Linked DNA regions of Homo sapiens: all the other regions are linked to region 3. The links are contacts of gene promoters, found by promoter capture Hi-C in human tissues and cell types (Jung and others, 2019). All regions are on one chromosome and are shown on one strand. Each heading gives the region's core, a stretch centred on a gene start or on the middle of the fragment in contact. The rest is flanking DNA. Distances are from core to core; before and after follow the strand shown.

What was found. The method cuts DNA at HindIII sites, captures the fragments that hold promoters and counts their contacts. A contact is called where the count stands out against the background at its distance.
Region 1: a contact is called between a fragment that was not itself captured here and the fragment with the promoter of USP46 in region 3, in 1 of the 25 tissues and cell types used here (heart left ventricle).
Region 2: a fragment that was not itself captured here is called in contact with the fragment with the promoter of USP46 in region 3 in 1 of the 25 tissues and cell types used here (lymphoblastoid cells).

What each region holds. Positions count from the first base shown.
Region 1 is chr4:53,757,511-53,760,785 of GRCh38, reverse strand. No RefSeq gene overlaps it. Among named protein-coding and RNA genes, the nearest start is that of LNX1-AS2, 170 kb to the right of the region's middle. The HindIII fragment of the contact is 4,901 bases long and covers 1-3,275 here.
Region 2 is chr4:53,993,672-53,997,295 of GRCh38, reverse strand. No RefSeq gene overlaps it. Among named protein-coding and RNA genes, the nearest start is that of CHIC2, 69 kb to the left of the region's middle. The HindIII fragment of the contact is 3,811 bases long and covers 36-3,624 here.
Region 3 is chr4:52,657,917-52,661,489 of GRCh38, reverse strand. USP46 (ubiquitin specific peptidase 46) reads left to right here and starts at 2,189. Exons shown (of 9, transcript NM_022832.4): 1 at 2,189-2,375. The coding sequence starts at 2,340. It overlaps USP46-DT (USP46 divergent transcript), which reads right to left and starts at 2,084. Exons shown (of 2, transcript NR_125363.1): 1 at 1,814-2,084; 2 at 1-598. RefSeq lists silencers at 1,776-2,205, 2,216-2,735. The HindIII fragment of the contact is 4,724 bases long and covers 1-3,573 here.

The DNA of each region.
Region 1 (3,275 bases), core at 602-3,101, 1.1 Mb before region 3:
AAATCATTTGACTGTGGATGCATTTCTGAGTTCTCTATTTTGTTCCATTGGTCAACGTGTCTAGTTTTATGCCTGTACCACGCTGTTTTAATTACTATCATTTTCTAGTATAGTTTGAAATCAGGTAGTATGATGACTCCAGCTTTGTTCTTGTTGCTTATGATTGCTGTAGCTATTCAGAATTTTTTTGTGGTTCCATATAAATTTTATAATTTTTTTCACATGTATAAAAAATGGCATTGAACTTTTGATAGAAATTGCATTTAATATGTACAACACTTTGGGTAGTATCGACATTTTGATAATATTAATTATTTTAATCCAAGAACAAAAGATAGTTTTTCATCTATTTGTGTCTTTTTCAATTTCTTTTATCAATGTTTTATAGTTTTCAGTGTACATATCTTTCACTTCCTTGATTAAACTTATTCCTAAGTATTTTATTTCATTATTTTTTGTAGCTATTTTAAGTGGGATTGTTCTCTTAAGTTCCTTTCTGGAAAGTTTGTTGTAAGTAAAGAGAAATGCTACAGATTTTTGTATGTTGATCTAGTATCTTGCAACTTTACTTAGATTATCATCTCTAACAGGTTTTTTTTGGTGGAATTTGTAGGGTTTTCTATATATAAGACCATAACATCAGCAGACAGCAACAGTTTTACTTCCTTTCCTATTAGGATGCCTTTTATTTCTTTTTCTTGTTTTGTTGGAGTTCCAATACTACATCGAATAGAAGTGTAGATTAGATATCCTTATCTTTCTCTGAGTCTTAGAGGAAAGAGTTTTGATTTTTTTATCATTGAGTATAATCTTAGCTATGGACTTATTATATATGGTCTTCATTATGCTGAAGTACATTCCTTCTATACCTAATTTGTTGAATATTTTTATCATGAAAGTTGAATTTTGTCAAATACTTTCATGGATCTAATGAGATGATCATATGGTTTTTCTCTTTTTGTTCCGTCAACGTGGTATATCACATTTATTGATTTGCAAACCATAAATCATTCTGCATTCCAGGGATAAATCCTACATGATCATGGTGAATGATCCTCTTAATGTATTGTTGAATTCAGTTTGCCAGTATTTTGTTGAGAATTTTTGCATCTCTTCATCAATGGTATTAACCTGTAGTTTTCCTGTCTTGGGAGGTCCTTGTCTGGCTTTGAAATCAGGGTAATGCTGGCTTCATAAAAAGAGCTTCATAGTGTTCCCTCCTTTTCAGTTTTTTGAAAAGTTTATAGCGAATTAGTATTAGTTCTTCTTTAAATGTTTGGTGGAATTCAGCAGTAAAACTCCCAGGTCAAGGGCTTTTCTTTGATGGGAAAGTTATTACTGATTTGATCTCACTTGTTATTAGTCTGTACAGATTTCCTATTTCTTCATGATTCAGTCTTGGTAGATTGCATGTGTCTAGGGATTTATCCTTTTTTTAGGTTATCCAATTTTTGGCATGTAATTATTCACAGCAGTCATTTATGATCCTTTGTATTTCTGTGGTGTCAGTTGTAATGTCTCTGCTTTCACTTGAAATTTTGTTTACTTGGAACTTTTCTCTTTTTTCTTGATTAGTCTAGCTTTTGTTAAGGTTTGTCAGTTTTGCTAATCTTTAAAAAAAACAACTCTTAGTTTCATTGTTCTTTTATATTGTTTTATGAGTCCCTGTTTCATTTATTTCTGCTCTGATTTTTATTATTTATTTCTTTTTGCTAACATTAGGCTTACTTTGTACTTCCTTTTCTATTTCCTTGAGGCATAGCACTAAGTTGTTTATCTGCAATCTTTCTTCTCTTTTGACGTAGGCATTTATTGCTTTAAATTTTTTTCTTAGAACTGCTTTTGCTAAACCCATAAGTTTTGGTATGTTGTGTTTCTATTTTCATTTGTCTCAAGATAATTTTAAATTTCCATTTTAATTTCTTTATTGACCTATTGGTTATTCAGGAGCATGTTGTTTAATTTCCATGTATTTGTGAATTTTCTAAAATTTCTTCTGCTATTGATTTCTAGTTTCATACCATTGTGGTCAAAAAAGTACTTGATATGACTTCAGTCTTCTTAAGTTTACTAAGACTTGTCTTGTGGCCTAACATATGATCTATTCTGGAGAATGTTTTATGTACTTGAGAAGAATGTGTATTCTGTTGATGTTAGATGGAATGCTCTATATATGTCTGTTAGATCCATTTGTTCTTGAATGCTGTTTAAGTCCGATGTTTACTTGTTTATTTTCTCTCTGCATGATTTGTCCATTACCAAAAGTGGTATATTGAAGTCCCCTACACTATTATTCTATTGCAGTCTATATCTCCTTCAGATTTTTAAATATTTGCTTTATATATTTAGGTGTGCCATTATTGCATGCATATATATATATATATATATATATATATTTTTTTTTTTTTTTTTGAGATGGGGGCTCACTCTGTCACCGAGAATGGAGTGCAGTGGCTTGATCTTGGCTCACTGCAACCTCTGCCTCTTGGGCTCAAGTGAATCTCTGAGTATCTGGGACCACACATGCGCCACCATACACGTGTTTGTATTTTTGGTAGAGGTGGGGTTTTGCCATGTTGCCAGGCTGGTCTCAAACTCCTGACCTCAGCTTAAGCGATTTGCCTACCTCGGCCTCCCAAAGTGCTGGGATTACAGGCATGAGCCACTGCACCCAGCCATCATGCATATATATTTGCAATCATTTTATCCTGTTGATGAATTGACCCCTTTACCATTATAAAATGTCCTTCTTGGTCTCGTTTTTACAGTTTTTGACTTAAAATCTATTTTGTTTAATTTAACTATTGCTATCCCTGCTCTTTTTTGGTTTCATTTATATAAAACATTTTTCTATTCCTTTACTTTCAGACAATGTGTGTCCTTAAAATTGAAGTGAGTCTCCTATAGGCAGCATAGAGTTGGGTTTTGTTTTTAAATCCCATTCATTCACTCTATGTCTTTTTTTAAAAAAAAATTAAGACAACATTCATGGCACATTTAATCAGGAATTCCAAATTAGTGCTACAAACACTAAAAGTATAATGTTTTATTAATATAAATATCACCCCTCACTGACATAAGCAAAAAAAAGCTCAATTATGTGGAAAGAAATGTTTACCCAAAGAGGTGCCTTCCGCTTATAAACACAGACTATATCACATAGCATATCAGTTCTCAAAAGGAAGTAATTCTAGATCTAAAGCTTCTTCTGTAAGTAACATCAGGTTTATGGACCTGTATGGAAGAAAAGTGGCTACAAAAAAAGGACATGACTA
Region 2 (3,624 bases), core at 692-3,191, 1.3 Mb before region 3:
AAAATGTAATATTTTATGATTAATATTAACTAGAAATTAAGACTGAATTATTCAACTTCAGTTTGCCATTCTTTGAAAGAAGTTACATTTTGGGAAGTTCTGTGAAGTTAGAAAAAGTTTGAAAGTGTGTTGCGGGAAATAGTGGCTGACTAGTGTAATGAATTGAAACGTTGGAATCAAGAACTCTGTGCCCAAGGGACCTGGCTGTCCGCAGGCTGTCATTTGAGGGTAAATGACAAGCAGGTGCCTGAGAAATGACAGGAAAGGCCCTACTTTTGGTCGTTGGCATCAGTACTAATAACCTTCTGGCTTTAGACCATGATTGAGGAATATATTTTCTGTGAGCACAATTGTGTATCATATAAATTTCAAGTGTGTTAACTAGTAGCAGAAAACTACAGTATCTAAAATTGTTTTTGCTGACCAAATGCCTTTTGACCAGAATCCCCCATTTAAGAGCTTGTCATTGTGCAGTTTGAAAATTTAGCTACTTAAAAAAAAACTTTAGATATATTTTTGATAAAACTATAAAATATACTTGAAAAATCACAAAGTTTTAAACACTTTTATAAGTGTACTTTTTGCTTTATTGAATGCCTGGAGCAGTTTCAGAAACTTACATAGTTTGGGAGTTCTCAAAGAAACAGCCATCAATGACGAATATAGCCTTTTGATGTTCCAGAGTACCGCACTCTGACAGTTGTCTTTCTTACACTGTCTTCTTCCACCACTATGGTGTCCCTATAATTATGCTTCAAATGTGCTGTCATTTTTGAATGCTACATTTTCACACATGAGTGGATAGACATGAACAGTGTTTTGGTTCTTTCCTTTGTTTCCCCTATTGAACTACTTTTTTTAGTAAGTCCATGTTAATTAAAATTCTAATGTTCTCATCAAAATTGCATTTTTGGAATAAATTTGTATCAGGATCAAATGACATTAAATCATTCAAAATCAATTAGAGAATGGTTTTAATTAATTGAACAGAAAGATGAAGTAAAGGAGCTGACATTGTTAAAACCTATTTACTGATAATTTAATAGTATGTTAAAATTTGTTTAAAGAGCTGGCTGCAGTGATTCACGCCTGTAATCCCTGCCCTTTGAGAGGCTGAGACAGAAGGATCGCTTGAGCCCACAAGACCAGCCTGGGCAACACAGTGAGACCCCATCTCTAAAAAAACTTTTAAAAATTAGCCAGGCATGGTGGTATGCGCCTGTAGTCCCAGCTACTTGGGAGGCTAAGGTGGGAGGATCCCTTGAGCCCAGGAGTTTGAGAGCAGCCTGGGCAACATAGGGAGAACCCATTTCTACAAATAAAAATAACATGTAAAAAAGCTGGGAATGATGGTGCATACCTGTGGTCCCAGCTGCCAGGATGGTTGAGGCTGCAGTGAGCCGTGGTCACGCCACTGTTCTCCAGCCTGGGCAGCAATGAGACCCAGTCCCCCTGCCAAAAAAAAAAAAAAATTATTTAGAGTATTTTGGGGTGATATATAAAATCATAACAGCTTAAAACGGAATACAACGAAAAAGACAATTTTTAAATAGTTAAAAGTGTTGGCGAGATAGAGGAAGTCAATCATAGTCTTGGAATAACATTTAGATTTCAGAATTTGAGTTTTTATGTTTGTTTTGACAAAATGGTTCTTTTGCTTTCTTCAACAAGAGGTTTAAGGCTTTGAACTTTTTGAAACTTTGATATAATTGTTGAAGTTTTTTAAACAAATCCTATAGAAATAGGAGACTGCTAATATGAAGAAGATAGAACATACTATTACAGCAAATTTATTTACTCACAAAAATTGCTTTTCCAAGGTAATCTTTTTCAAAAACTTACTGACATTTTAATGCCAAGTGTGTTTTCTTTGTCCCTAGTTTTAACAGTTTTAAAATACATGATTAACCTTTTTTCCTGAAACTGAAAGGAATCTGGACCAATTTTTTTAATCTATGCTTAAAAGCCACTCTTTTGATATGTTTTTCTTCATAGGACAGCCCATTATATTTAAATAGATAAATTGTCTCAGTTATTTCACACTAGCTGTATGACTTTATTTCTGTTATCCCCAGCAACTACATTTTTAGCTTTAAAGAATATTTTTATTGCTTTTGCATCAATTTCAAGTTTCAATATACAAAAGAGAGTAGTAACTAGTTCCTATGCTCTTCAGTCTGCTTCCCCAAGTAATCATTCTACTGTGAGGTGTTTTGTTTTTGGTATTGGCATTTTGGTATTAGGATTCATTATTACTAGTTATCAAGGAGACTCATTATTACACTGTGTCCCCTAATCATGTATAACCAGTGGCCTGGCAAAGCAGAAGACGACTTCCTCAAAAAAAAAAAAAAAAAAAAAAAAATCGTAGTTTACTTTAAGAGTTGACACTGCTGTAACCCAAAGACCTATTGAACTTACATTGCTGGTTGAGAAGCACACATCCAAAAAATCCAGTTATCTTCTGATCCACAATAAATTTTTGGAAAATAATCTGAAAACCAATTGTCCTCCATTATGACTAATGCACAATTTATTAAACTTAGATTTTTTGAGTGCAGTAACAGAACTAGAAATGTGTTGCTGTGTTACTCTGTTCTTGTACTGCTATAAAGAAGTACCTGAGACTGGGTAATTCATAAAGAAAAGAGGTTTAATTGACTCATAGTTCCACAGGCTGTACGGGAAGCATGACGGCTTCTGCTTGGCTTTTGGGGAGGCCTCAGGAAACTTATGGCAGAAGGCAAAGGGGAAGCAGGCACTTCCTACATGGCGAGAGCAGGAGGAAGAGAGAATGAAGGGGGAGGTACTACACATTTTTATAAACAACCAGATCTTGTGAGAACTCACTATTACCAGAATAGCAAGGGAAAAATCTGCCCCCATGATCCAGTCACCTCCCACAAAGCCCCTCTTCTAACATTGGGGATTACAGTTCAACACGAGATTTGTGGGGGAACACAGACCCAAACCATACCAATTACTAAAGAAATGGGAGACATTTGAATTTGGTGAAGAAATGGTCTAAGGTCTAAGCTTGGCCCAACCTCGGGCATCATGCCAAGTATAAAGGATAGCAAAGAGAATAATGCCTTTTGGTTTCTAAAGAGTTGAGGCTGGAGGAATAAGCATGTAACATGGTATGAAAAGTGCTAATAATCAAGGAAAGTAAGTGATAGGGTGGATCTTCAAAGGAGCAATATATTTGGGGTGGAAAGGTCATAGGTTGCATGGGTTGAAGCTTAACACATGAAAAGGCTGTGTTAAAAAAGTACTGATGATTTCTGTATGATTGGAAAATATGGGGAGATGGTCTGGTACAAAATACCTGTTTAATGAATTGTGCAGAAGCATCAAGAGATAAGGTCAGGAAAGGGAGAAGGGACAAGTGTATCATGCTGAAATTTTTTTGACTCTAGCCTGAAGCTATTGAAAGATTTTGAGAATGTGAGTGGACCTGGTCAAATCTGTCATTGATGAAGCTCATTCTGACCCTGAAATAAGCCAAAATTAGCAAGCTCCAATGTTAATTTGTTTTAACCTGTAAAGCTAGCAAGTAAAAATTCCTTAAATAAAGAACTCAACTGTTTCACTGTTTAGCAATGAGACCAAAGAGTATGTAAG
Region 3 (3,573 bases), core at 940-3,439:
CTTGTGGAAATGTAAAATGTATTTAATCTTTCATAAGTCTGACAAGCTCTGCCATGTTCAACTGATTTGTTGTGTATGTAATTCACTGCCTGAGTTTCAATCTGGATGTCTATATTGAACACTTCAGTTTTAGGATATATACCATTAAAAGGTATGCAAAAGATCCTTTTAACTTGCTGATATAGCACTCAGTAATCAGATGCTGTTCAATTTCCATTATGTCGATGGTGTTTTCAATCCTGTGAACTTTGCAATCCATGCGCCAATGTTGGCAGAAATACTGAACTCTTATTACAAAATTTTCATATCATTTAAAGCTTTAGATTATTGCCTTTATAGTGGAACTTCTGTGAAATTGAGTCCTGAGATCTGAGTTTTAGCCTTGAGGTTGCTCCTGACCTTGAGACATTAATACTCAAATCTTAAAGTTTTCTGGGCCTCCGTGCTGGGATTGGTCATAGTTCAGTTGTTTCCTGTCTTCTCTCTTCTCTTCCTCTCCCAGAGTGCTCAGCCCAGGTTACCACACCAACTTAATCTGTAACATTTCGGTAAGTCATCTGGGCAGGATCCTTGATCCTCTAAGCCTTATGTGACTGATCTGCAAAAAAGGAGATAATAGCATGTACCAGCTGATAGTTATGGTGGCGATTAAAGGAGATCAGGAATGTAAACATTGGGTGCAGTGGTTCACGCCTGTTGTCCCAGCGCTTTGGGAGGCCAAGGTGGGATGATTGCTGGAGCCCAGGAGTTTGGGATGACTCGGGGCTGCCCAGCCTCAGGCTGGGCAACATAGCGAGAACCTGTCTCTTAAAAAACAGAGAGAGAGAGAAGAAAATCAGTCATGACTTACAATGGAAGAAATTATCATCAGGATGTATTTGGAAATAATATTTAGGTTGAAAGACTTAAGCAGGAATATTATTTCTCATGTCCACTGGAAAACACAGTGACATGACTCCCAAAACCTTCAGTCAACAAGTCTGTCTTACTGTTTCCTCCCCAGATTCTAGGGATATTAGCAATCAACGGCTCTCAAATCTTTACTCTTGGTTAGATAAAAGCTATCTTCAACTAATTTTTCTTCTGATTCAATTTGTCATTAAATACACTGATCTAAGAATTTATCACGCATCTCACTTGTACAATTTCTCCTTTGAAAGCATCGAATTGCAACCTTGTATGTGTAACTGTTCCACACATTCAGAAACGGGCCCCTTCAATTCGCGTGGACCTATCTGCTAAGTGGTGCACAGACTCGCGCTCTGAGCCCGCAGCCACGACCTTTAATGCGGGAAATGTGCATGATCCCATACAGCGCCCATCTCAACAACTAGAGGCTGGGTGCACCCGAGAGGGGTATGCCTGCCTTGAAGATATGGAAAAGTTTTGTTTTCGTTCTTTCCACTCCTTGGACAGTCCCTAGTGCTTGCGCGGAACCGGGACGTCTCCTTTGGACCCGCTAATGTCACAAGCCGCCCGAGCGCGCCGCTGCTGGCCTCCGCCCAGACCCGGATTCCTCCCCCTTCCCGGCGCCCTTTCTCGGGCGCCCGGCCCGCAGCTGGCGAGGGCTCTCTGACCGCTCCGGTGTCCTCGCCCCATTTTACTTCTTGGGTCCCCGCCGGTGCCATCTGGTTGGAACCCTCGGGAGGAACTAAAAGTTGGACGTCGCCACCCCTACCCCTCGCCAAAAAATAAACACCGGGGGCTGCCGAGGCCCGCCAGGAGGAAGGCGACGAGGAAAAAGCGAGGACGGAAGGCGGCCCCGGGTTCGCCCCGGCCTGGGCCGCCCGCTTCCCCACCCCGCGCACCGTACCGTCCCCGGCTCCCTGGCTCCCCGACGGCGAGGAGGGCCGCCGCTTCCGCGTCGGGGTCGGCCGGGGGACCTGCGAGGTGCGGCTGCCGCAGCGGCGCGCCCCGGAGCCTGGCCCGGCATTCCAGTCCGAATAGAAAGAGGCAGGGAATCAAATGGAAAAGCAGGAGGCCAGGCCTGGGCGGGCGAGCTGGGAAGGAGGCGGCGCGGCGGGGCCCGGGAACCCAGCCTGGAGCGCTCTGAGCGGCCGGCTCGGACTCACGCGGCGCGCCCGGGCCGCCCCTCCTCCCCGCGCCGCCGGCCGCGGCCCAGGCTCCCTCGCTCCGCCACTCCCCGCCCCTCCGCGCTCCCTCCCCGCCCTCCCCGCGCCGCCGCCTCCTCCTCCCGGCCTCCCTCTCCCAGCCAAACTGAAAGCCGGACCCCAGGCCGCCGCGCTGCCGCCCGGCCTCCCCGCCAGCGCGCCACCATGGGCAGTCCCGGTTTCCCCTTGTAAAGATGGCGGTGAGGGATCGCTGCAACCTTTAGACTAATGACTGTCCGAAACATCGCCTCCATCTGTAATATGGTGAGTGGCCGAGCCGCCTCGGGGTCGCGCCCGACTCGCGGCGAGGCAAAGAAAGGGAAGCCCGAGCTGCACACACGCCCGGTGGCTGGGGCGGCGGGGGCGGCGGGGTCCGCGCCGCCAGAAGTTCCCGGCCCCCGAGCTGGGCGCGCGGCCGCAGCCACCTCAGCGGCCGGGGAGGGTCCCCGAGCCCCCGGCGCCCGTCTCAGCCCCGGGACCTCGGAACCCGCCCGGCGATCCCGGGGCCGCGCTGCTGCGCCCCCCGCCCTCGGGTTGCGGTGGAAGCGGCTTGAGGGAAGGGAAGCGACCGAACCTGAACGTCCCCGGGGAGGGGGTGGGGGATAAGCTGGAGGTGGGGGGCACCCATCCTCTTCTTGCGGTCAAGACAGCCTTATTGGACGTCCAGACTGCCCTCATCTCATTTTGAGTTCAGTCCTTCCGAGGTGTTTAAAATTCACTTTGCAATAGCAATTGTGTATCTGGAGAAATCGGAAATGTAATAAAGCTGTAAAAAAAGTGCAAAATTGTGGCTGGAGAAGTGAACTTCAACCTGGTTTGAAAAAGCACCGTAATTTGCTCCGCATGCCTCAGTTTCCCCATCTGTGAAAAAGGGACAAGGCTCTGTGGCGGTAATATTTGCAGGCCCTAAGGGTGGGGCGGGCTGTGGGCTTGGAGGAGGTCTCCAGGGTTATCCTGCCTGATCCGCTGTAGACCTAGGGGAGGCTGGCGGGCATGGATACAGCCAGGGACATCACTGGGTTCTGATGCAGTCCGAGCCCATGATGCGGTGGTCACTTTAATTTGGGTTTCCCCCATTGCTTTCCCTTTTTCTGTAGGAAGAACCTCCAGCCCTTGGGTCCCCAGGCTGGACCCTGCTGGCGCCTCCACTTGTCAGAGCCTTTGGGGAGCTCAGATTGGAGTAAGGCATTGCTGTCCCTTGCAGGGTGAGATGATGTGTGTTTTGCCTACATTCTTTAGACTGCACCCCGCCTCCCCTCTAGCCCCCTCCCAAGCGGGTCCCCGGAGGCAACACGTGCTCTTACAGTGCCAGTTTGAGGAAAACCTCCCTTGAAGCTAGTAATACTGGCCCCTAAAGGGAATCCAAGGAAGCTTGATGGAGAAGCCCTGGTGTAAGGTGATCTGGCTGCCCTTCCCCCATCACATAGCTTTTTAAATCTTCTGTCCCACATTCTGTTGCAAG